Linked DNA regions of Homo sapiens: region 2 is linked to region 1. Evidence: promoter capture Hi-C in human tissues and cell types (Jung and others, 2019). All regions are on one chromosome and are shown on one strand. The core of a region is centred on a gene start or on the middle of the fragment in contact, and the rest is flanking DNA. Distances in the headings are between cores, read along the strand shown.

What was found. Contacts are between HindIII fragments. The study calls those that stand out against the background at their distance.
Region 2: the fragment with the promoter of TNFSF14 here is called in contact with the fragment with the promoter of TUBB4A in region 1 in 2 of the 25 tissues and cell types used here (spleen and stomach).

What each region holds. Positions count from the first base shown.
Region 1 is chr19:6,501,003-6,503,576 of GRCh38, reverse strand. TUBB4A (tubulin beta 4A class IVa) reads left to right here and starts at 1,268. Exons shown (of 4, transcript NM_006087.4): 1 at 1,268-1,421; 2 at 1,954-2,062; 3 at 2,180-2,290. The coding sequence starts at 1,365. RefSeq lists silencers at 1,012-1,281, 1,292-1,471, 1,642-1,751. The HindIII fragment of the contact is 15,381 bases long and covers 1-2,574 here.
Region 2 is chr19:6,668,891-6,671,464 of GRCh38, reverse strand. It overlaps TNFSF14 (TNF superfamily member 14), which reads left to right and starts at 1,305. Exons shown (of 4, transcript NM_001376887.1): 1 at 1,305-1,614. The coding sequence starts at 1,396. RefSeq lists a silencer at 176-275 and enhancers at 846-1,075, 1,456-1,545, 2,446-2,574. The HindIII fragment of the contact is 26,746 bases long and covers 1-2,574 here.

The sequences.
Region 1 (2,574 bases), core at 19-2,518:
AAAAAATCTTGAAAATTAGCCAGGCGTGATGGCATGCACCTGCAGTCCCAGCTACTTGGGAGGCTGAGGTGAGAGGATTGCTTGAGCCCAGGACATTGAGGCTGCAGTGAGCTATGAGCATGCCACTGCACTACAGCCTGAGGGACAGAGCAAGACCCTGTCCGAAAATATATATATATAGGCCGGGCGCGTTGGCTCACGCCTGTAATCCCAGCACTTTGGGAGGCAGAGGTGGGCAGATGGCCTGAGGTCAGGAGTCTGAGACCAGCCTGAACAACATGGAGAAACTTTGTCTCTACTAAAAATACAAAAAAATTAGCCGGGCGTGGTGGCACATGCCTGTAATCCCAGCTACTCGGGAGGCTGAGGCAGGAGAATCGCTTGGACCTGGGAGGCTGAGGTTGTAGTGAGCCGAGATTGGGCCATTGCACTCCAGCCTGGGCGCCAAGAGCGAAACTCTGTCTCAAAAAAAAAAAAAAAAGGGTATAGATATAGATAAAGATAAATTACAATACTGGAGAGGAGGGGTGTTATTTTGGGAAAGCGAGGCAGCCCTGGGGACTCACTGTCCCCCTCCCAATATGAACCCAGCTGTCTTACTCCTCCACTCTCCTCCTTAGGCCAGGCTGGGGGTGACCCCACCTGGGACGAGCTCAATGCCCAGTAGAGGTGTACCAGGGGAGCCCACCAGCATCTGCACCCAATCATGGGAGGAAAATCGTGGTTTTACTATGCAGCTTCAGGACAAGCCCTCCAGGAACCTACCGCCCCCCACCCGCAAACCAGATCGCCGCTCCGGAGCCCCCAGCCCACTGGGAGGGCTCGCGGTTACTGCAAGGATTCTGGCGAATGAGGTCTAAATAGAATGAGAAGGGGGGCTGCGGACCGAGAAACTGAGGCAAGGCCTGGGGCGGGAGGGTGGAGGCTAAGGGGGAGGGGCAGGACTTCTCAGATGCCTGTTTACCAGGCGCTCCCCTCCCTTCCTCCGCCCAATTTCTGCGGGTGGCCAAGCCTGGCTGGGGGCTGGGACGGGGGAGACTGCACTGGTGGCTCCCTAAGGGGCCTCACCCCCAAGGCAGGGGTCGGAGCACGTGGCGTCCCGGACTTCTCTGGGAGGCCCCCTGGGGAGGGAGGTCCCTGCACCACCTCCCCCCACCCCAGCCCCCTCCATCATCCCGGGGCGGGACCAAGGGGCGGAGCGGGAGGGTGACCGGCCGTGACGCGTGCCCCGCCCGCTCATATAGCGGCTCCCGGGGGCGCAGGGACCGTGCTCCGCCGTCTCCGCCGCATCTTCCACCCTCGCCGCCGCCGCAGCTCCCCGCGCTCGTGCCACCGCCGCCGCGTCCACCCTCAGCGCCACCGCCATGCGGGAGATCGTGCACCTGCAGGCCGGCCAGTGCGGCAACCAGATCGGGGCCAAGGTGCTCGGGGAACGGGGCCCGGGGAGGCAGTGGCGGCCCCGGGGAGCACCGCGGGGTCGGTCCCCGGAGCACCCCGCAACCTGGGAGTCTTTGGAAAGGAATGAGGTCCCCAGGAGGCCAGCGCGCCCCAGGGGCCTTGGGGGAAGGGTCGCGGGGTGGGGGTGGCAGGGCCAGACTGGGAACAAAGAGGCTGCGGAGAGTGGGAGCCAGCCTTCTGTCCGCCTGTCACAGCTGGGCCCACAGCTGGGCCACTGTCCCCTCCTCACGCACAAAGAGCCCCGGTGCCTCCCCCGGGCTGCAGCCTGGGTGCGCTGGCACCAGCCGGCCCCGCTGGGTGCTGACTCGGCTGCACCCCGCCCCCACCGCTCCTTCTTGCTGCCTCATCCTCGCCCCGACACCATGCCTCTAGGTCCCCCGTTCACCTTGCTGGGGGAGAGGTGGCAGCTAGGGAGCTAGTTGGGGGCTGGGGGCAGTCCTCGGCTTGGCCACCGGCTTCCCCTCTCTCAACTCTTCCGACCACCTCTCTCTCTAGTTTTGGGAGGTTATCAGTGACGAACATGGCATCGACCCCACAGGCACATACCATGGGGACAGTGACCTGCAACTGGAGAGGATCAACGTGTACTACAACGAGGCCACAGGTAGGGCGAAGGAGGCACCTTCCAGGTGGGAAGGGGCAGCTGGGAGGGAACAGGATGCTACCGGGCGCCTGTGGTTCCTGGCACGCATCGAACTGCCCTCCATCTGTTTCCCTGCAGGAGGAAATTATGTCCCCAGAGCGGTGCTGGTGGACCTGGAACCCGGCACCATGGACTCTGTCCGTTCTGGCCCCTTCGGTCAGATCTTTCGGCCGGACAACTTCGTGTTTGGTGAGTCCCCCAGCAGGGAGCCAGAGGCTGGAAAACCTCCTTATTCCTGCTAACACCACAGAGTCAACAGCCACCACCGGGGCCCACAGACCAGAGATGGGGTGGACAGGGCACCAGGCACCAGCCCTGCATCCAGGGCTGTGATGAGGGGATGCTCAGGCCACTGTGAGAGCCCTGAGGAGGGCGGATACAGAGAAGGATTCAGGGAAGTCTTCCTGGAGGAGGTGGCATTTTAATTCAACGGTCTGAACCGGAACCAGACTGCCTGGGTGCACATCCCAATT
Region 2 (2,574 bases), core at 56-2,555, 170 kb before region 1:
AGGAGGCTGAGGCAGGAGAATGGCGTGAACCTGGGAGGCGGAGCTTGCAGTGAGCCGAGATCGCACCACTGCACTCCAGCCTGGGCGACAGAGCGAGACTCCGTCTCGAAAAAAAAAAAAATCCACGCTTGAATGCATGCACACTCATACATGGACCTCCCCACACACATGAACACACCCGTGCAAGTGCGCACACACACATACACGCACCAATGCACAGGCACACACACATGCACACACCTGCACACAGCACATATATGCACACCCACTTGCACATGTGATGCATGTTCACACATACACACACGTGCACATGCATGCATGTACATGGACCACATGCACATGCACACAGATGACCATACACATATGCATGCACCTGCCCACATATGCACGCACATTTACATGCCAGCACATGTATGATACACAGGCATGCGCCTGCACATGTGTACATGATACACACTTGCATGCACACAACTGAATACACACATTCACATGCACACACTGCACACATATATGCATGCAGACAAGCACACACACAGAGCACACATCCACTCCTTTATTCCACTCTTGTGTTTTTCACTGCACTTGTCACATCAAAACACAACAGAAGGCCGGGCATGGTGCGGCTCACGTTTGTAATCCCAGCACTTTGGGAGGCTGAGGTGGGTGGATCGCTTGAGGTCAGGAGTTCGAGACCAGCCTGACCGACATGGTGAAAACCCATCTCTACTAAAAATACAAAAAGCAGCCAGGCGTGGTGGCACGCGCCTGTAATCCCCGCTACTTGGGAGGCTGAGGCAGGAGAATTGCTTGAACCCAGGAGGTGGAGGTTGTAGTAAGCTGAGATCGCGCCACTGCACTCCAGCCTGGGCAACAGAGCGAGACTCCATCTCAAAAACAAAACAAATAAACGAACAAAAAAACCCACAACGTATTATTTTCTTGTTTACGAGGTTTCTTGTCTCTCTGGCTCCACCAGAAGAGGAGCAGGGACCCTTCTTGCTGTTGTTCATTGCTGCATCCCCCACACCGAGAGCAGAGCCTGGCATGGGCAGAAAGTCCTCAGTCGATATTTGGTGGCCCCAAGCGAATGAAGCATCCAAGAAGGGAAAGCTGGGGGCTCCCCACTGCACTTGCCACCTGAGTCACATTTTCAGAAGCCTCTGGAAAGTGTGAGAGTCTGTATGAGTGAGAGTGAGACAGGGCCAAGACCGGGGGCGGCGGGTACCGGAAGAAGAGGAGGGTGAGTGGGGGAAGGGGTGGGGCTGAACCCCAGCTCTAAAGGCGGCCCACGGGTGCCTGTCCGCAGCGTGCACAGCCCAGGAGTGTTGAGCAATTTCGGTTTCCTCTGAGGTTGAAGGACCCAGGCGTGTCAGCCCTGCTCCAGACACCTTGGGCATGGAGGAGAGTGTCGTACGGCCCTCAGTGTTTGTGGTGGATGGACAGACCGACATCCCATTCACGAGGCTGGGACGAAGCCACCGGAGACAGTCGTGCAGTGTGGCCCGGGTGGGTCTGGGTCTCTTGCTGTTGCTGATGGGGGCCGGGCTGGCCGTCCAAGGCTGGTTCCTCCTGCAGCTGCACTGGCGTCTAGGAGAGATGGTCACCCGCCTGCCTGTGAGTGGGACCGGGGGGCTGAGAGCAGGTGGAGGTGAGGGGGGCTCCCCTGTGTCATTGTGGGTCACTGTGTGTCTGTGTGTGTGTGTGTGTGTGTGTGTGTGTGTGTGTGTAGGACAGGGCACAGGCTGAGAGCAGCTGGCTTGACTGGTTGCTGCTCCCAGCCTTGGGCAAGTGAATTCACCTCTCTGAACCTCAGTGTCTTCATCTACAAAATAAGGGCAGTCTCTTCATAGGGGACGAAGTATGCTATGGCATGTGTAGTACCAGACGATGCCAGCTCCACCCGTCGGAACTGACACCCCAACACTGCCATGCACACCCCTGTGCACACACGCATGCATTTTCTCTGTACTTTTTTATTTTTGAGACGGAGTTTCACTCTCGTTGCCCAGGCTGGAGTGCAATGGCATGATCTCTGCTCACCGCAACCTCTGCCTCCCGGGTTCAAGTGATTCTCCTGCCTCAGCCTCCCGAGTAGCTGGGATTACAGGCATGCGCCACCACGCCTGGCCAATTTTGTATTTTTAGTAGAGATGGGGCTTCTCTATGTTTGTCAGGCTGGTCTCAAACTCCCGACCTCAGGAGATCCACCCGCCTCAGCCTCCCAAAGTGCTGGGATTACAGGTGTGAGCCACTGCGCCTGGCCTTCTCTGGTACTCTTATTACTGTTACTGCGATTGTCATTAATTCTCTGACCATTTCCATCTGTGGAAATTTCTCGGTCTGCTTCCAGCTGGCTGTGGATGTGTCCGCCTGTCTGTGTGCCTCACCTGGGGGTCTATGTGTGCCCAACACCATACCCCTGTGGGCTTGGCCCCTTTTGTGTCCTGGGTCTGGATCCGGTGGCCACACATTCGTGTCCATATACCCATGTGGACGTATGTGCGTGTACCCACATGTCCACACACCCGCCTAGCTGCAGCCGGTGTATTCACGTTGTCTGTCTTTGTCTCTGGG